4 separate regions of the Homo sapiens genome follow, and regions 2, 3 and 4 are each linked to region 1. The links are contacts of gene promoters, found by promoter capture Hi-C in human tissues and cell types (Jung and others, 2019). All regions are on one chromosome and are shown on one strand. The core of a region is centred on a gene start or on the middle of the fragment in contact, and the rest is flanking DNA. Distances in the headings are between cores, read along the strand shown. Region 1 holds the start of VPS4A (vacuolar protein sorting 4 homolog A). Region 2 overlaps CDH1 (cadherin 1). Region 3 overlaps NFAT5 (nuclear factor of activated T cells 5). Region 4 overlaps NFAT5 (nuclear factor of activated T cells 5).

Evidence for each region. Contacts are between HindIII fragments. The study calls those that stand out against the background at their distance.
Region 2: a fragment that was not itself captured here is called in contact with the fragment with the promoter of VPS4A in region 1 in 1 of the 25 tissues and cell types used here (thymus).
Region 3: a contact is called between a fragment that was not itself captured here and the fragment with the promoter of VPS4A in region 1, in 1 of the 25 tissues and cell types used here (lymphoblastoid cells).
Region 4: a contact is called between a fragment that was not itself captured here and the fragment with the promoter of VPS4A in region 1, in 2 of the 25 tissues and cell types used here (dorsolateral prefrontal cortex and heart left ventricle).

Annotation. Positions count from the first base shown.
Region 1 is chr16:69,309,182-69,314,328 of GRCh38, reverse strand. It overlaps VPS4A (vacuolar protein sorting 4 homolog A), which reads right to left and starts at 2,979. Exons shown (of 11, transcript NM_013245.3): 1 at 2,797-2,979. The coding sequence starts at 2,817. RefSeq lists silencers at 2,515-3,064, 3,125-3,264 and enhancers at 2,207-3,156, 3,157-4,107. The HindIII fragment of the contact is 10,929 bases long and covers 1-5,147 here.
Region 2 is chr16:68,822,483-68,827,629 of GRCh38, reverse strand. It overlaps CDH1 (cadherin 1), which reads right to left. Exons shown (of 16, transcript NM_004360.5): 13 at 4,004-4,231. It also overlaps the pseudogene FTLP14. Among named protein-coding and RNA genes, the nearest start is that of TANGO6, 18 kb to the left of the region's middle. The HindIII fragment of the contact is 3,204 bases long and covers 2,030-5,147 here.
Region 3 is chr16:69,690,647-69,695,793 of GRCh38, reverse strand. NFAT5 (nuclear factor of activated T cells 5) reads right to left here. Exons shown (of 15, transcript NM_138713.4): 12 at 4,706-4,854; 13 at 1,555-4,045; 14 at 415-658. The coding sequence ends at 423. Among named protein-coding and RNA genes, the nearest start is that of SNORD13H, 15 kb to the left of the region's middle. The HindIII fragment of the contact is 7,332 bases long and covers 1-5,147 here.
Region 4 is chr16:69,661,581-69,666,727 of GRCh38, reverse strand. All of the region lies in intron 7 of NFAT5 (nuclear factor of activated T cells 5), which reads right to left. Among named protein-coding and RNA genes, the nearest start is that of SNORD13H, 45 kb to the left of the region's middle. The HindIII fragment of the contact is 4,649 bases long and covers 1-4,266 here.

The DNA of each region.
Region 1 (5,147 bases), core at 1,730-4,229:
AGCACTGACCCATCCCCTCCCTCCTTTTGGAAATTCTAGTAATACACCTAAGAGTGTGCTGGGGCTGGGCACGGTGGCTCATGCCTGTAATCCCAGCACTTTGGGACGCGGAGGCGGGCGGATCACCGGAGGTCAGGAGATTGAGACCATCCTGGCTAACACAGTGAAGCACCATCTCTACTAAAAATACAAAAAGTTAGCCGGGTGTGGTGACGCGTGCCTGTAGTTACGGCTACTTGGGAGGCTGAGGCAGGAGAATTGCTTGAACCCAGGAGGTGGAGGCTGCAGAGAACCGAGATCACACCAGAGCAAGAGTCCATCTCAAAAAAAAAAAAAAAAAAAAGAGTGCACTGGACTTTTCTGGCAGCCACATACAGTTTTTCACACACAGGGGGTCCAAGTTTCAATGGAGAGAAACAGTTTTACAGAACAGGAGGGTAAGGTGAGAAACTGCCAGCCCCGCCGCATCTCTAGTAACACGTATGGCAAAAGATGAGGATGAAAGAAAAGAGTGCTAATGGGGGCTGGCAAATGCTTACTGTAAAGGACCAGATGGTAAATAATTTAGGATTTGCCAGCCAGATAATCTCTGTAGCAACGACTCAACTCTACCTTGATGGCACAAAAGCAGCTGTAGACAGTATATCAATAAACGAACAGGGATGTGTTCCAATAAAACTTTATTTATAGACCCTGAAATGTGAATTTCATAGGATTTTCATGTGTCATGAAATACTGTTTTTCAAGCCATTTAAAAAATGTAAAAACCTATGACATTATGTTAAGTCATAATGAAAGAAGCTAGCCACAAAGGACCACCTATTGTATGACTCTGTTTATATAAAGTGGGTTTCTCTGTAGGCAAACCCACAGAGAAAAAAAGTAGATTAGCAGTGGTTGCCCAGGGCTGGGAGAGAGAGGGGTTGTGGGTGAGGGGTTTCTTTTGGAGGTGATGAAAATATTCTAAAAAGTGATTATGGTGATGGTCACACAACCATGAATATACTAAAAGCACTGAATTATACACTTTAAATGGGTGAGTTGCGCTGGGCACAGTGGCTCACATCTGTAATCCCAGCACTTTGGGCGGCCGAGGTGGGCAGATCACACTTGAAGTCAGGAGTTCGAAACCAGCCTGGCCAACATGGTGAAACCCCGTCTCTACTAAAAATACAAAAAAATATTAGCTGGGTGTGATGGGAGGTGCCTGTAATCCCAGCTACTTGGGAGGCTGAGGCAGGAGAATCACTTGAACCCAGGAGGCGGAGGCCGCAATGAGTTGAGATTGTGCCACTGCACTCCAGCCTGGGTGACAGAATGAGACTGTCTCAAAAAAAAAAATTAATAAAAACAAAAATATATAACGGGTGAGTTATATGGTAAGCACGCAAGTTATACCTTAATAAAGCTGTGTTTAGGCCAGACCCGTGGCTCACACCTGTAATCCCAGCACTCTGGGAGGCCGAAGTGGGCAGATCATCTGAGGTCGGGAGTTCGAGACCAGCCTGGCCAACACGGTGAAACCCGGTCTCTACTAAAAATACAAAAATTAGCCGGGCGTGGTTGCGGGTGCCCGTAATCCCAGCTACTCAGGAGGCTGAGGCAGGAGAATCGCTTGAACCTGAGAGGCAGAGGCTGCAGTGAGCCAAGATCACACCACTGCACTCCAGTCTGGGTGACAGAGTGAGACTCCATCTCAAAAAAATAAATAAATAAAATTTAAAAATAAATAAATACACCTGTGTTTGAAACTGAAAAACATTCTCGGTTCACGGGCCATAAAAAACCTGCCTGGGCAGACGGGATCTGCGGCTTCTGCTGGTGGTACGGTGGGATCTGGCTATGGACTCTTAATTCCTAACCTGGTACCCCAACTCATTCCATGTCTGCTCCTACTTCTGCCCTCCTCCACCTCCAGGTCTCTGAATGCTACTGGAACTCTGATGTCCCTTCTTCCATGAAGTCTTGCCTAACTCTCCCAGGCACTTTGTTGGCTGTCACTTAATGGACACCTACTATGTGCCAGACATACAAGAATGCTTTACCGTAATTATTCAATTTAAAGCTATCATCACAACAACCTAGAGGGCATTACCCCATTTTACAGACCAGGAAACTCGAGACCCGAAGATGAAAAAAAAAAACTAGCCCAAGGTCACTTGCTGGTGAGTGGCAGAGCTGAGATTCAAACCCCGGAATGAGGCCTGAGCATGTTGATCTCTTCTGGCCCCGCAGGACTGACAGCACCTAGAGGGTGGGTCAGTTGTTCACCCAGGTGGCGCCATCCCAGCACCACCCTGCAGGATCTAGGGAATGAATGAAGGGTCGCTGGCCGAGAAGAGGAAGTCGAAGATTGGGGAAGGGGCCGGGGCTTGTTCGAAGTGAGGTCGAGGGACTTCCAGGACCCGGGACAGGAGAGGAGGGAGCGAGACAGGAGAGGAGGGAGCGAGCATCGCTGTCTGAACGCCCAGCCGGACCCCGGGCCGAGCTTCCTGAGGGTGCCTGTGCGGCTCGGGTGAGGCTGATCCCCACGGCGGTACCGGGGCGCCGGCTACACGAAGCGGCCCTGGGGCTGGGCCAGCCGGGCAGGGCCGGAAGGCCTGAGGGTGGAGATGCCACCCGGCTCCGAGCGCGTGGAAACAGACACGGGCGGAAGCGGCGAGGGGGCGGCCGGAGCGGGGTCGCGAGGCCGGGGCTGGGAGGCGCCCACCTGACCACCCGCCCGCCGCCCGGCTCTGCGGCCCGCAGGCCCCGCTGCCTTCGGCCTCCGAAGTCGGGCCGGGCCGCACGAAGTACCTGGAGGGTTGACGTTGTCATTTCATCTCCTGGGTCCGCCCCACACCCCGCGGCGCTGCTTGCGGCCTCGGTCCGGCCCCGGGGAGCCGAGGTACTGGGTCCGGCGCGGGAAGCCCGGCGGTGGGCGCTGAGCGCGGTGCGCGGGCAGGGCGGCCGCTCGCAGCGGGAGCCGAGTCCGAGGGCAAGCGAGGAGCGCAGCCCAGAGCGGTCGGGCCCGAGCCGAGCGGCTGCCCCCTAGCGTCCACGGCTCGCACTGCAGGCACCTCTCCCTGCCTCGGCGAAGGCAGGGGGCGGTTCGAGAGGCAGGACTGACTGGGGACGAGGAGGTGGGACTAGGGCGAGACGGACAGGGGGCGGGGACGGGGTGGGTGGGACAAGGCCGGGGCGGGGCCTGGCGGGACGTACATTCTCGGGGCGGGGCCAGGGGCGGAGCGGGGTAGAATCCGGAAATCCTGACCTCGCTTGGAATAACAGCGCCCATTGAGCAGTTTTATTCTCACAATAAAACGAACTTATCAGAGCGTTGGTTTCTCCATGTTTAATATCGCACGATCATAATTAGTACCTGCCTTGTCTGGCTTTTGTGGGGAATAAATGAGCTAGCTAATGTAAACAGAGTGTGCCCCACACTGGGGCTCAATCCCTGGTGGGATGCCGCTGACTGTTCAAAGCCAGTTTTGTTTTGCTTGGATTGATTGACTGATTGATTGATACGGAGTCTTGCTCTGTCGCCTAGGCTGGAGTGCAGTGGCATGATCTCGGCTCATTGCGACCTCCGCCTCCCGGGTTCAAGCGATTCTCCTGCTTCAGCCTCCCGAGTAGCTGGGATTACAGGCATGCACACCTACTGTGTGCAGCGTTGTGTGCTAGTTTCTGGGGATACAATGATCAAAGCAGTTCTAGGGCTGGGTGTACTGGCCCACGCCTGTAATTCCAGCACTTTGGGAGGCCAAGGCAGGAGGATTGCTTGAGCCGAGGATCAAGACCAGCTTGGGCAACATAGTAAGACCTCGTCGCTAAATTAAGAAACAAAACAAAACAAACAAACAAAAAAACGCACCAGAGGCAAGTGATCCATTTGTCCACAAGTCTATCCTGTGAGAGAAAAAAAATGGAGGGCAAAAAACATCCAAGTTGAGGCTGGGTATGGGGGCTCATGCCTGTAATCCCAACACTTTGGGAAGCCGAGGCAGGCCGATTGCTTGGGCCGAGGAATTCGAGAACAGCCTCGGCAACAGGTGAACCCCCATCGCTACAAAAAATAAAAAACGTATCTGGGCATGGTGGCGCACACCTGTAGTCCCAGCTACTCCGTAAGCTGAGTTGGGAGAATTGCTGGAGCCTGGGAGGTCGAGGCTGTAGTGAGCCGTGACCAGGCCATTGTACTCCACCCTGGGAAATGAAGCAAGACCCTGCCTCCAAAAAAAAAAAAAAAAAAAAAAAAAAAAAAAAAAAAAAAAAACCAAAAAATTGGCACACCTTAATCTCTCTTCACAAAATGCTAATTAAATACAAAGGAGAGGCCGGGCGCGGTGGCTCACGCCTATAATCCCAGTACTTTGGGAGGCCGAGGCAGGTGGATCACTTGAGGTCAGGAGTTCAAGACCAGCCTGGCCAACATGGTGAAACCCTGTCTCTACTAAAAATACAAAATATTCGCCGGCCATGGTGGTGGGCACCTGTAATCCCAGCTACTTGGGAGGCTGAGACAGGAGAATCGCTTGAACCTGGGAGGCGGAGGTTGCAGTGAGCCAAGACCACGCCATTGCACTCCAGCCTGGGCGACAAGAGCGGAACTCCATCTCTAAATAAATAAATAAATACAAAGGAGAAAACAATGAGGACATTAGCTTGACTACGCGACCGAAGGGAACACCCCTGGTGGTGGGATGCGTGGCCCTCGTGTGTCTCTCCACATGATACCCTGAAGAGAGCATGGCATCGTGGCATCTCTGCCAAGAGTGTGTGACACAGCCTGGTTGTGAGGCAACACCGAATAGAGCCAGCTGGAGAGCTGTGCTGAACAATCAAAGCCTTGTGCTGAGACTCAGGCACATGCGAATTAGAGTAAGGCCGAGGAACATTCCAGACTGAAGAACTGAGACACGACGACAAAAGGCAAGAAAGTGGTATTGGCCAGGATCCAAGGCCAGAGAGGAAAACAGGACATGGCCGGGATGGCTGGCATCATTTGAATGGGGTCTATGGAATGAGTGGTGGTGTGCCAATGTTGATTTCTTGATTAGGAGGACTTTATGGTGGCAATGCAAGGACTGTCCTTATGTTTTGGAGGTCCTCACTAGAGAATTTAAGGGTGCTAGAGAATCATATTAGAGAAAGACAAGGTAATG
Region 2 (5,147 bases), core at 2,382-4,881, 490 kb after region 1:
TAACCAGCTATGGGGAGTGGGACAGAGACTATAAAATTGCCTGGTATGTTCTTATTTTCTCTTAAGATAGAATCATGTAAGCAAGCTTTAAAATCTATTTAACTTCCAAGGCTTAACACAAGGGTTACATTTGATCTTGGGATTATTTCTAGGATATACACAATTAACATTTAACTTTAAAAAAAAAATCTCTAAAGCAGCCAGAAAGAAACCACTTAACTTAGAAAATACATATATTATTCACTGTGAATGAAAAAAAAAAAGATTCCATGTGTTTTCTATCCATGGGTGCCCAAGTACCTATATACTGTACCCTATGAAGCATAATCTTTATTTATTTATTTATTTATTATTATTTTGAGACAGAGTCTCACTCTGTTGCCCAGGCTGGAGTGTAGTGGCGCAATCTCAGCTCACTGAAACCACCACATCCTGGGTTCAAGTGATTCTCCTGCCTCAGCCTCCCAAGTAGGTAGGACTACAAGCACCTGCCACCATGCCCAGCTAATTTTTGTATTTTTAGTAGAGACAGGGTTTCACTATGTTGCCCAGGCTGGTCTCAAACTCCTGACCTCAAGTGATCCACCCACCTGGGCCTCCCAAAGTGCTGAGATTACAGGCGTGAGCCACCACGCCCGGCCGAAGCATAATCTTTAAACAGGAGGTTGCATAAACTTGGGGAAAAGATTTCTCAGATGTACCTCAACTACCTATTTCTAAAACCAGAAAAATGCCAGAAACCTTATCCAGATAAACAGCATAACTCCCTTGTCCATGATTCATCAACAAGAACACTGAATTGGCTGCACAGGGAGACAGCACTGAACAAGACTATAGGAGCTACACAGTCCCCATCCATGCAAAGCAAGAGGCAGTTTACCGTTTCCAAAATGACCCCTCTTATCAGCTGTGCCAGAAGCCCAGTATCCGCAGGCTCTGAGAAAAAGCCTGGCACAGAGTAAGCAATCAAACATTGGCGGAAAACATGAAAAGCTTCAGATCTCCTGGTGTCTCTCTAGTAATTTTTTTTAATAGAGATGGGATCTTGCTATGTTGCCTAGGCTGATCTTGAAACCTAGGTTCAAGCAATCCTGCCACCTCAGCCTCCCAAAGTGTTGAGATTATAGATGTGAGCCACCGTGCCCAGCCTCTAGCACATTTGTGCCCTTAAGAAACAAGAAATTGGCCGGAGGAGTGGCTCACACCTGTAATCCCAGCACTTTGGGAGGCCAAGGTGGGAGGATCACTTGAGCTCAAGAGTTTGAGACCAATGTGAGTAACATAGTGAGAACCCATCTCTAATAAAGAAAGAAAAAATAATCATAGAAGTTAAAAATACAAGAAATTGAAATTGAACATCTGAACTCTGGCATTGCCTCTGTTTTAAATGTTGCTCTACATGGGAATCCCCACCCCCAGTGTCTAAAAAAATACATACCCATAGCAAATTTAGGTAATCCTATTTAAAAAAAAAATATTTCAAGTATAACTACAATCTTTAAGATTCCCTGGCTGGGCACAGTGGCTCATGCCTATAATCCCAACACTTTGGAAGGCCAAGGTGGGAGGACTGGTTGAGACCAGGAGTTTGAGACCAGCCTGGGCAACATAAGGAAACACTGTTTCTACAAAAAAATATTAAAAAATTAGCTGGGTGTGGTGGCTCATGCCTGTGGTCCCAGCCACCCAGGGGTCTGAGGTGGGAGGATTGCCTGAGCCCCGGAAGTCAAGGCTGCAGTGACCTGAGATCTGAGATCACTCCACTGCACTCCAGCCGGGCCCACAGAATGAGAACTTGCCTAAAAAAAAAAAAAAAAAAAAAAAAAGATTCCCTTTAGAATGAATGTACTGGTCAGTAACCACTATACCAAAAGCAGACCAGGCCACTGAAATGTAATTTGACTAGGAAGTGGGCAGGCAGGGCTTGTGTTACCCTGCCCAAGGCAATGATGAATTAACCTAATCTCATGGCACAATAAAGCCATGTAAAGCCTGGCAGGATGAAAGTCCAGAAGGCTTGCTCAATTCTCAACAGCACTATCCTTTTCTTCAACTTTGGGAGGACACCAGGAGGGGGCAGAAGCAAATGGGATGCCCAGCAGACATTTCTGGAAGGTTGAAAGGCACCCTCTCCTGGAGTCCACTGAGGCAGCAGCAGCAGGATCAATGGCACCCATGCTCAATCTAAATTGAAAACCCTAGATTTGGTCCCACTGCTCCCTCCAAAATTCTTTTTCCATTCCCACCAGCTTGGCCTGGTCTCTGCTCTTCTAGGAGTCTCCTCAAGCCTCTGCTGTGCTTTGCTAGGAGGGGAACCTTCCTAAATACCCATCTGCCTGTTGGAATTCTACCAGCCCCTGTGGCCTAACCACTTACATCTTCCACAAAACTGTCCTTGAGACTCAATTAACAGCCTTTTCTGACTACCCTGACTACAAAGGCATTCATGAGCTGGACCACCCCTTGCAGTCACTAATTATATATGATCTTTAAACATTTCTTTTAAAAAATTTTTTTTAATAAAAAAATGTATTTTTTATTTTTATTTTGTAGAGACAGTCTTGCTTTGTTGCCCAGGCTGGTGTCAAACTCCTGGCTTCAAGCAATCCTCCCACCCTGGTCTCCCAAAGAGTGAGCCACCATACCAGGTCAAAGGTTTCTAATTGACTTGCTCTCATTTGCTGTGATAATCATTTGCTTGCTCTTCCATCATTCACATGTTTAAAGCCCTACCAGAGTTCTGATGTAGTGCACTCCTCCATATGGATACTTTGTCTTTTGATGCACATAGTCTGTTTTCATCGCTAATTTATTCCTTTAATAGATTCAGTACTTTCTCCCTGTGTGTAAATGATAAAAGTATTTACCTTGACCATAACAGCTCCTGTGTCACCCCTAGGGCTCACTCCAGGTGGGCTCCAATGGAAACAGGTTTAAGGACTATGGCAGAAACTGCCAATTTTCCTCAGCATCCTTTTTCTCCTTTATCCTTTTAGTCATTGACACTCACTGCTCACCCTACACTCCACCCCTACTCCATGTCAATTTTCAATTGTAAGTAGAAGCTTCCAGGTTCCCTTGCAGCTAGATGTGGCTGTGTTTGGGCCAATGGTATATAAGTGGAGGTGATATATGCAACTTCCAGTCGTTTGGCCTCCACTTCCTCTGTTATCCCCTTCCCCAATCTAGGATGGAATGTAGAGGTGGTGGTGGTGAGCTGGCTAGCTTAGACCACGCTGATGAGGGCAGCCCCCAAGGTCTTGCTACTCTGCCTATGGTCTAAGGAACTGCAACATCAGTACCGCCTGGGAGCTGGTTAGAAATGTAGAATCTGGCCGGGTGCGGTGGCTCAAGCCTGTAATCCCAGCACTTTGGGAGGCTGAGGCGGGTGGATCACCTGAGGTCGGGAGTCTGAGACCAGCCTAACCAAAATGGAGAAACACCGTCTCTACTGAAAATACAAAATTAGCTGGGCGTGGTGGCACATGCCCATAGTCCCAGCTACTCAGGAGGCTGAGGCGGGAGAATCGCTTGAACCTGTTAAGCAGAGGGTGCAGTGAGCTGAGATCACACCATTGCACTCCAGCCTCGGCAACAAGAGCGAAACTCCATCTCAAAAAAAAAAAAAAAAAAAAAAGAAATGCAGAATCTGTGGCCCTATGCCAGACCTCCTGGATCAGATTTCCCAGTTCAAAAAGAGGCCCAGATGATTTGTATGCTCTCAAGCTTGGGATGCACTGTCTTGAAGAATGAAAAGAGACAAGGTAGAAGAAACCTGGGTCCCCTGTTGACTTCATGGCCTTCCCATCTTAGACCATTTACCTCTGAAATGTTCAGTAAGAGACAAACTTCTATTTTATGGAGGCTGGCATAACTTGGGAGTCTCTTTCCCACATCAGCTAACCTATATCCTTATTAATATAAGAACAAAAATCATTTCCAGGAAATAAACCTCCTCCATTTTTTTAAGTCAAAGGCTGAGTCACTTGCCAGCTGGACTTACTTAGCAAAGCAAGAATTCCTCCAAGAATCCCCAGAATGGCAGGAATTTGCAATCCTGCTTCGACAGGCTGTGCCTTCCTACAGACGCCAGCGGCCCCTTCACAGTCACACACGCTGACCTCTAAGGTGGTCACTTGGTCTTTATTCTGGTTATCCATGAGCTTGAGATTGATTTTGTAGTCACCCACCTCTAAGGCCATCTTTGGCTTCAAAATGATAGATTCTTGGGCTGGAGAAAGCAATAAAAAGAAATGATGAGACCAGGGGAGGAAAATAAAAAGCTCATTCCAGAATAAAATTGCTAGTGAACTAAAGACACCCGCAAGCCGAGTGAAGAGAGCAGAGCTGCTTGGGTTTTATTTAGGTATGTACTTTTTTTTTTTTTTTTTTGCTGTAAAAAGCTTTATTTCCATTTGGTCTAAGGCTTGGGAGAGGGCTCTAGAGTTGGTTTAAAAAAGCTGCCTAGTGGCTGGAGGGAGAGGCTTAGGCAGAGCGGGGCTCTTCAGATGTCGCTGGGTTCGGTAGGCTCCCGTGTGCCTGAGGGTGAACCTTTTTGCCCAGCCCGGCCTGGAGGCCGGCTGGCCTGTGAAGGTTGGTCAGGTGGTCACCTATCTTCTTGATGAGTTTTACTTTTTCATCTAGGAAGTGGCTCTCCAGGAAGTCACAGATATGGGGGTCTGTGCAGGTGGAACCCAAGGCATGAAGATCCAAAAGGGTCCAGTTCAGGTTCTTCTCCAGGGCCAGAGTGACTTCCATCGCACCCAGGGTTTTACCCCATTCATCTTTACATGGCTTCTGGATGTCCGGGAAGACAGTGCGGCCGCCACACTGGTTTTGCATTTTCAAGGGACACTCAGCGCCCTTGTGCTTCTCCTTGGCCAATTTGTGGAAGAAGTGGTGCACACCTTCCAGATCCACATCGTCATGGTGGAAATAGAAGCCCAGAGAGAAGTAGGTGTAGGAAGCCCATATATGCAAATTGACCAGGCAGTTGACAGCTGCCTCCACCTCGGTAGAATAGTTCTGATGAATCTGGGAGCTCACGATTGGTTGGCAAGAAGGAGCTAACCACAAAAATGGTGTTGTTTGGTCCCAGGAGCAGGAGGTAGCAGAGAAGATGGTCCTGGTTGCAAGTGGAGAGGGGA
Region 3 (5,147 bases), core at 680-3,179, 380 kb before region 1:
CACTTGAGATGTCATGTCAGCACTCAAAAAGATTCGGATTTCAGAGCATTTTGGATTTTGGATTTTTGGACTAGGGATGTTTGGTCTGTATTTTTTTTTTTTTTTGTATTTTTTAGTAGAGACGGGGTTTCACCATGTTAGCCAGGATGGTCTCGATCGCCTGACCTCGTGATCCGCCCACCTTGGTCTCTCAAAGTGCTGGGATTACAGGCATGAGCCACCACGCCCGGCCTGGTCTGTATTAACTATATGACCATAAGCTATCATTCAGAATAATTTTATTCAGAGTAAAAAAGTATCATCTTGTGAGAAAGCCACATTTTAAAAGATTAGAACTACTATTACTTAACCTAAATCTGTTAAGAAGAATAAAATCTGATGCTTTTCAATAAGAAGCCAAAATGCAATACTTACATATCCAGTTAAAAGGAGCCAGTCAAGTTGTTCCCTTGGTTTTGCAATGAAACAAGCAAATCAATCTTTTCGATGTTCTGGTTGGTGTTTATAGAGGATGCCAGTGGAGAATTCTCTGGCATTTGCTGAGAAAGAAGTGTTGTCACAGGTGGCTGGCCCTCGTTTTGTGGTTGGCCTGGCTGACTTATGGCCATCAACTGATCAGGCAATGTAGCTGGTCCAGAGGTTAAAAGCTGACTACAGTCTGCAGAGACATTGAAAACAGAAGCTTAAAAGCTGACTACAGTCTGCAGAAACATTAAAAATAGAAGCTATCTGATTAGTAAAGATTCATGAAAAGATATTTATTAGTTGTTGGGGAAAATTCATTACTGCATTCTCCTTGTATATTACTAAAAGTTAGGCACCTGATAGTCCAAGAAAAAGGTTTTCACAGACTGGCACTGGAATTCATCTTAGGTTTCCTTTAAGCAGTCTAAAAATACAACTTTGCTTAAATATCAAAAGTCCTATATAAATTCCTTGGTATATAAACATTAAAGATGAGTTTCTACCTCCTTAGAAACTACTTACTTCAACTGGGTAAGGTATTATCTGTCATTCTGACTTCATTTTCCTTTTAAGTTTATAGCTTAAAATGGCAAACACACATTTTTATACATTGCCATATTTAATCCTCCCCAAATCCATGTAAAGTATGTAATATTATCACCATTTTAAATGAGAGAATTGAGACCCATAAAAGCCAAATAACTTGTACAAGATCTTATAGTCTATAGGTGATAGAGTTCTAACTACAATCTGTACTCTTAAAACAACTATACAGGACAGGTGTGGTGGCTCACGCCTGTAATCCCAGCACTTTGGGAGGCCGAGGCCAGCGGATCACTTGAGGTCAAAAATTCAACACCAGCCTGGCCAACATGGTGAAACCCCGCCTCTAACAAAAATACAAAAATTAGCTGGGCGTGGTTGTGCACACCTGTAATCCCAGCTGCTTGGGAGGCTGAGGCAGGAGAATCACCTGAACCTGGGAGGCAGAGGGTGCAGGTGCAGTGAGCTGAGATCGCACCACTGCACTCTGCTTCCTTCTAATAATAATAATGACCAATTAAGTAATGAAAAATTAGAGTTTCTTACTATTTTGAATGCCAAATAAGAACATTCCTGATGTCTGCTGAGATGAGCCAGGAGAATTCTGCAGTTGGTTCATTGTGCCTCCTGCTGTGTTGTGAAATAAAGTAGCCTGTGGTTGAGGCGAAGATGTGGCTCCTTGAATTCCAGGCATGTTGTTCTGAGGGGAATAAAGAGGAGACTGTTGCATATCTTGTTGATTTATACTGGTCTGCAAGGCAGACATGGATGCTGGAGATAAGAAGAGAGTTACTTGCTGCTCTTGAGAACTAGGTGACCCTTGTACCAACTGAATCTGAGGAGAGCTATGGAACAAGGGGGTCTGTGATGATTCCGACTGGGTAGGACCTGGGTTCTGAAGTGAGGAAACTGTGGACTGACTCTGAAATTGCATGGGCTGTTGCTCTTGATTCATTGGGGCCATGTTACTTTGTTGGTGAAAAATTGACTGGTTCTGTTGCTCCTGATTAGCCATTGGATTTTGATTTGGGTTGAATATCATGTTTGGTGGTGGTTGCTTTGGAGACGCCATTGTAGCCATGGTATTCTGATTACTGAATAAAATGCTCTGTTGTTGTTGCTGCTGCTGTTGCTGCTGCTGTTGCTGCTGCTGCTGCTGTTCCTGGGATGGAGAGTTACTCTGCATGGCAACTATTGAGTGCTGTGACTGGAACATGGTTCCTTGTTGGCTTTGAGGCATTGGATTAGGTGGAAGGGAGCCCAGGGCCACCTGAGGCTGAAATAAACCCTGCTGCGGGGGTTGTGCCTGTTCTTGGGAAAGCATAGGAGTCTGGATGTGTGATATTGGAGCTTGCTGTTGGAAAGCAGCTTGTTGTTCACTGTTTGATGTTGACTGAAGTGGAGAAATTGAGTTCGGTGCTGCAAAAAATGCTTCTTGGGCTACTGTGTTAGTCTGAAGATTATTCATGGGACTCTGGGAAAGAAATATGTTGGTTGACTGCTGGTCTTGAGGAACTGAAGAGCCCTGTAACACAGCAATGGTACTTTGAGAGTGAAACATTGGAGGCTGCATTTGTTCAGAGGAGGTTGTAGAAGTCTGACTGTGGACAATAGGATTTGGACTATGAAAGAGAGAACCTTGAGTTTCCTGGGAAAGGTTCTGAGCATCGGCAATAGGATTTTGAGGATGAAAAAGTTGGGCCTGTGAATGAGAAGACTGCTGCAAAAAATTTCCAGATTGAAGTGACATCATCTCATTCCCTTGCTGGAATAAACCATTACCTTGTTGTTGGGTACCACTATTCTGAACACTCATCATACTTTTTGTGGATGAAAAAAGGTTAACTTGAGGTTGATTGTCCCCACTATGTTGCATTTGGACCATGGTCTGAAAGACACTGTTCTGAATCTGTTTTGCTTGTGTTCCAGTTTCTTCTCCATCTCCTGAACTTGATGTCTGAAACATGGTAGTGCCAGGGGTTGCAACCTGCTGTGTGGTAGTTGTAGAAGTTTCATTTCCAGAAACTGCAGGAGGAGAAGAAAACAATTCACACTGCATTTGCATATCCTCATTGGTAGACAATGCACTCATCATGTGAGAAGTCTGCTGGTAAACTGGCGATTGCTGAAGGTTTCCATTTGCTGAAGCAGTTGAAGGGAATAACTCTGACTGAATCTGGGCAGCTGCCTGGCAGATACTCTGTTGCATCTCCATCACCATTGCGGCTGAAGATTCCATCACTTGCTGTTGCTGCTGCTGCTGCTGCTGTTGATTAGATAACGTGTTTTCAGACTGTGGATGAACACTTTCAGCTCTTCCAGGTAATAAATTATCTGGTCTGGTATGGACTGTTGGCTCTGTTGAGGAAAACATTCCAGGGCTTACACCACTCTGAATTTGACTGACTTGTTGAAAAATATCTGCACTAAGCTGCTCTTGAACATTCTCATTACCATCTGGAGCAGAAAATAAAACTGAAGATAACTGCTGCTGTGCCTCTAAAACTTGTTGGACCAAGTCAACACTTCCACTGCTGCCACTAGCAGTACTGCCTGTGAAACTCCCTGCTTGCAGCTGCTGAATAGTATTCTGAAGCTGACTCACACTATTTGGTGATGGAAAAATATTTGATGAAATCTGCTGCTGTAAAGTCTGTGCTTGTTCTTGTAGTGGTGACTGCTGCTGTTGTTGTGATGCCTCAGTCAGTTGTGACAAATTAACCACTGTACCATCTGACTGTAATATCTCTCTAGACTGAGTTTCTCTTGTCTGAAACTGTGTAGCCTGCTGCAATAGTGCATCGCTGTTGGGCAGCTGACTAGAAGCAGAAACTGCTGGAAAAGTACCAGGCTGTGAGATGTCCTGGGTTTGAATAGTTGTCAGGGTCTCTGGGTTGTATGCCTTGGGCTGAATCTGCTGCTGTTTTTCATTTTCAGAAGGTAGGTGGGAAGATGATGGTGATGAAAAAGAGCCATTTCCTGCTATGTTTGAGATGTTTTCTAATGTTTGCTGAGTTGATCCAACAGACTTTGTAGTCTAAAAAATAAAAATCCCCAAATATTATGAATATATAAACATTAAACAAGTTTGTAACATACATCAAAAATCACTATTGCTCTAAAAATATATGCAGGACCAGCTTTCCACTCTATATTATTATCATTTAGAAAACAGGTACAGGACTACAATTCTCCATAACATGATGTCTCATTTTCCTTGAGATATATTTTTTAAAAGTACGACAAGCAAAGATAGTCAAACAAGGAAGTAGAATAATCGGCTATTGATATGCTTAGGTGAATTAAGGGTAATCAGAACACAGTAATTTTATGGTTCATGAAGAGCAGGTATCAAAATATCTCAATTTTGTGGCTCCTCAGTAACATTACAGGGGATAAGACAAGTAAAAAAAAGAAACAGAAAGTTATGGGAAAAGACTGGGAAAAAAATAAAAACATCTCTAATTCTGAAAATGCTAAAATTAGTACTTTCATCAATATCTCATACAACATATTAATTCCTCCCTTGTATATTGGAAGTCACTATGTGGGCAATTTTGCTGAAGTATAAAGCATTCCCTCTTTACAGCAAAATTCATTAAGTGCATCCAAAGTAAAAATAATGTTAAAAAAATAGGAAAAGTAAAAGACAGCAATTTTTATATAGGAGGTTTGTGCACTAGTCAATACAGCTTACCTTAAAAATAGTGGAAGATCTTTTTTCTGCTGTTACTTCCATTGGAGTAACATCTTCACTCTTAATCATACTGCTTGGTATGAGTGGAGTCATCAGGGCATTAGGGATAATATTTACCTTATCTAAATTACATCCAGTAGTTTTCATTGCTGCATATACACACACACAAAAAGAAAAGTTTAAAATCACAAAATTTACCAACTATTTCATTCTAAAATTTGTTATTAGCCATGATTTAAATGTCTATTTTTTTGATGCTACAATGGTAGCATGAGATACAAACCTGGTATATTAAGATATATCTTCCCTTTTATGAAGTGCATTGGCTGGGGGACCTCTGGAATGGGCCTGGAACTATAGCTTAAATATTAATAATAAGCTTAAGCAGTTCAATTACCAAGCTATATTCCCCAAGACGGTTCCAAGTGCCTTGAATCATACT
Region 4 (5,147 bases), core at 693-3,192, 350 kb before region 1:
GTCCCACCAACAGTGTAAAAGTGTTCCTATTTCTCCACATCCTCTCCAGCACCTGCTGTTTCCTGACTTTTTAATGATTGCCATTCTAACTGGTGTGAGATGGTATCTCATTGTGGTTTTGATTTGTATTTCTCTGATGGCCAGTGATGGTGAGCATTTTTTCATGTGTTTTTTTTCCTGCATAAATGTCTTCTTTTGAGAAGTGTCTGTTCATGTCCTTCGCCCACTTGTTGATGGGGTTGTTTGTTTTTTTCTTGTAAATCTGTTTGAGTTCATTGTAGATTCTGGATATTAGCCCTTTGTCAGATGAGTAGGTTGCGAAAATTTTCTCCCATTTTGTAGGTTGCCTGTTCACTCTGATGGTAGTTTCTTTTGCTGTGCAGAAGCTCTTCCGTTTAATTAGATCCCATTTGTCAATTTTGGCTTTGGTTGCCATTGCTTTTGGTGTTTTAGACATGAAGTCCTTGCCCATGCCTATGTCCTGAATGGTAATGCCTAGGTTTTCTTCTAGGGTTTTTATGGTTTTAGGTCTAACGTTTAAGTCTTTAATCCATCTTGAATTGATTTTTGTATAAGGTGTAAGGAAGGGATCCAGTTTCAGCTTTCTACATATGGCTAGCCAGTTTTCCCAGCACCATTTATTAAATAGGGAATCCTTTCCCCATTGCTTGTTTTTCTCAGGTTTGTCAAAGATCAGATAGTTGTAGATATGCGGCATTATTTCTGAGGGCTCTGTTCTGTTCCATTGATCTATATCTCTGTTTTGGTACCAGTACCATGCTGTTTTGGTTACTGTAGCCTTGTAGTATAGTTTGAAGTCAGGTAGTGTGATGCCTCCAGCTTTGTTCTTTTGGCTTAGGATTGACTTGGCGATGCAGGCTCTTTTTTGGTTCCATATGAACTTTAAAGTAGTTTTTTCCAATTCTGTGAAGAAAGTCATTGGTAGCTTGATGGGGATGGCATTGAATCTGTAAATTACCTTGGGCAGTATGGCCATTTTCACGATATTGATTCTTCCTACCCATGAGCATGGAATGTTCTTCCATTTGTTTGTATCCTCTTTTATTTCATTGAGCAGTGGCTTGTAGTTCTCCTTGAAGAGGTCCTTCACATCCCTTGTAAGTTGGATTCCTAGGTATTTTATTCTCTTTGAAGCAATTGTGAATGGGAGTTCACTCATGATTTGGCTCTCTGTTTGTCTGTTGTTGGTGTATAAGAATGCTTGTGATTTTTGTACATTGATTTTGTATCCTGAGACTTTGCTGAAGTTGCTTATCAGCTTAAGGAGATTTTGGGCTGAGACAATGGGGTTTTCTAGATATACAATCATGTCGTCTGCAAACAGGGACAATTTGACTTCCTCTTTTCCTAATTGAATACCCTTTATTTCCTTCTCCTGCCTAATTGCCCTGGCCAGAACTTCCAACACTATGTTGAATAGGAGTGGTGAGAGAGGGCATCCCTGTCTTGTGCCAGTTTTCAAAGGGAATGCTTCCAGTTTTTGCCCATTCAGTATGATATTGGCTGTGGGTTTGTCATAGATTCAAGATAATTTAACTTCTGGCCTTTTAAAAGGTCCTTTCTTTAAAGTTTACGAGATGAGTCCCCAACAGACGCCATACTAAACACAACTAAAGTCAAGATTACTTAAGCATTAACTGTTTTATTTTTAAGTTATTTACTTATTTATCTATTTATTTGAGACGGAGTTTTGTTCTTGTTGCCCAGGCTGGAGTGCAGTGGCGCAGTCTTGGCTAACCGCAACCTCCACCTCCCAGGTTCAAGCAATTCTCTTGCCTCATCCTCCCGAGTAGCTGGGATTACAGGTATGCACCACCAAGCCCGGCTAACTTTGTATTTTTAGCAGAGATGGGTTTTCTCCATGTTGCTCAGGCTGGTCTCAATCTCCTGACCTCAGGTAATGGGCCCACCTTGGCCTCCCAAAGTGCTGGGATTACAGGCGTGAGCCACTGCGCCCGACCAAGTTATTTATAAGCTGACTCTTGAAAGGAATAATGCTTAAAAATTACTTGAAAGGAATAATGCTTAAAAATTAGAACACACAAAAAATCACCTTTTTGGTATTGTAAAAACTGTGTGCTTTTAGATGCTTTTCAACTAGCAGTCTGAAAAATAAAGTTGAGGCCGGGTGCGGTGGCTCACACCTGTAATCCCAGCACCCTGAGAGGCCGAGGCAGGCGGATCACGAGGTCAGGAGATTGAGACCATCCTGGCTAACACGGTGAAACCCCGTCTCTACTAAAAAATACCAAAAATTAGCCAGGCGTGGTAATGGGCACCTGTAGTCCCAGCTACTCGGGAGGCTGAGGCAGGAGAATGGTGTGAACCCCGGAGGTGGAGCTTGCAGTGAGCCGGGATCGCCACTGCACTCCAGCCTGGGTGACAGAGTGAGACTCCGTCTCAAAAAATAAATAAATAAATAAAGTTGAAAAAAATAATGAATATCTGAATACTGAAAAATAAGTAAGCAAATATTTCAACCTGTCAAGAGAATAAAGCTTTGTAATAATGTCTAGTAGAACAACATAGTTAACAGAATATTTTAGAGTATAAAGCCTACATCTGACTATGTAAATTACTAATCCTATCCAAAATTTTAAGAGAGGGATAGTTTGCTTAACAATACCATCCTTTCCCCATAGCTGTGGGATAGGTAGAAATAGGGGAAGTAGAAAATTCTTAAATTCAGAGTCATATTTAATTGAGTAACCATAAGATAAAATCTAATATATATTACATGTAAGAAAGCCATGATTAATTTTGTCCTATTAAAAACTACTACAGAAGGGTAGATATGAAAATTTTTTCTTTTTTCTTTTTTAAGGACAGATCAATAAGACCTCACTCTGTTGCCCAGGCTGGAGTGCAGTGGTGCCACCATAGCTCACTGTATCCTTGAACTCTTGGGCTCAAATAATCCTCCCATCATAGTCTCTCAAGTAGCTGGGTCTACAGGGACATGCCACCACGCCCAGCTAACTTAAAACATTTTTTTTGTGTGTGGAGATGGACTCTTGCTATGTTGTCCAGGCTGGTTTCCAACTCCTGGCTTCAAGCAATCTTCCTACCTCGCCCTCCCAAAGTGCTGGTATTACAGGCGTGTACAACTGCACCTGGCCTTTTTTTTTTTTTTTTTTTTTTTAAAGAGATGGGTTTGAATCCCAGGCTGGATTCAAACTCCTGGGCTCAAGTGATTCTCCTTCCTCAGCCTCCCAAGTAGCTGGGACTACAGGTGCGTGCCACTGCACCTAGCTGAAAATTAATATTCTTAATTTGATATAACATAACAAAATAATATAAACATACATACCAAAACAAAAAACATATACACCTATATTGTCTGGAGAACATGAAAGATGTTAAGAATGTAAAAAGGGATGATCTTCTATCCCCTTAAAAACAAAAAGACAAAGGATCCAATGGCCATTGTTAAACCAATAATTAGAAGTAATTTTTTTAAAGCCACAAGGCACTGCATGAATCCTGATATTAGAAATTCTTTCCACTGAGTATCTATAGAAGGAAGATCAAGTATCTGTTTCCTCTTCTCCCTTCCAACTCTGTCACCTTTTGGCCCCTTTCCTTTTCTACCTCTCTCTCTTCCTGTTTCCTTCTATCTCCCATTCCAATCCCAACTCTTTGCACTAACCAATTTCCTTTTTACCTCTCATTTTACTGCAACTGCTTAAAGCTGCCAAAAAGTTTATATTCACGGAAAGAAATACAAGCCAGAAACTTATAATGGAACAAACATTTTAATTTTTTTAAATAAAAAGATTTTTTGGGTCCTGTGTTTTACTGTAGATCATTTTTATGTTTATTCTTCTTTTCCTCCCATATCCAGCCCTCAAAGTCGCAAGTTCAAGCATCAAGCTTCCTAAGTGGTCAGGATAAAATTCAAATTATTTTGCTGAATACACAAGTCTCTTTATGAAAGAGGTGTTGTCGGCCGGGCGCAGTGGCTCACGCCTGTAACCCCAGCACTTTGGGAGGCCGAGGCAGGCAGATCACGAGCTCAGGAGATCGAGACCATCCTGGCTAACACGGTGAAACCCCGTCTCTACTAAAAAATACAAAAAATTAGCCGGGCGTGGTGGCGGGTGCCTGTAGTCCCAGCTACTCGGGAGGCTGAGGCAGGAGAATGGCGGGAACCCGGGAGGTGGAGCTTGCAGTGAGCAGAGATCATGATGCCACTGCACTTCAGCCTGGGCAACAGAGCGAGACTCCGTCTCAAAAAAAAAAAAAAAAAAAAAAAAGAAAGAGGTGTTGTCTACCTCTGTAACCTCAAATCTTACCACTTCATAATGTATATCTTTTTATTCCAATCACATAAAACTCTTTTTATTTCCCCCAAAAGAATCATATCCTTCCAGGGAGCATATTTATACATGAATCCCTCTGCCCAGAATTACTACAGAAGGGTAGATATGAAAATTTTTCAAGTAAATCCCATTTTACTTGTTTTACTTCTATTTGTGTTTTAAGACAAGACAGAACAAGTTCTACCATCTCTGAGCAGTCTGAATTAGATGCTCTTACTATGTTTCCACTGTACTTTATTCACACAGCTACTGTGCAGTATAGTATCTTTATATAACTTTATAATACAATTGGAAGCTTATATAATTTTTATATGCAATTAAAAAAATAGAGACAGGGTCTTGCTTTGTTGCCCAAGCTAATCTGAAACTCCTGGGCTCAAGCAATCCCCCTGCCTTGGCCTCCCAAAGTGCTCCGATTATAGGTGTGAGCTCCCACGCCTGGCCTATATACAATTTTATATACACATATATGGAAGTTAATATAATTTTACTATAAAATTAGACATTTACTTGCCTGTTTTTTCCCCAGCCTGCTAAACTGTAAGCTCCTTAAACTATAATCTTTAATTTCAGAGTTAGGCACACTGTAACTATCCATTGAATTAACTATGAAGTTTTCCAAAAACAAATCATCAATTGGCATGCCTTTTTGTTTGTTTTAAAGCACTACAGGTGACTCGAACCTACACCCAGGATTGAGAACAACTGCATTTAATTTATGTTGACTAAATGAGTGACTGAATGAGCAATGAGGCATATTTTGTTATCAGAACACAATAAAAATTAAAAACAAAAAGCACTCAT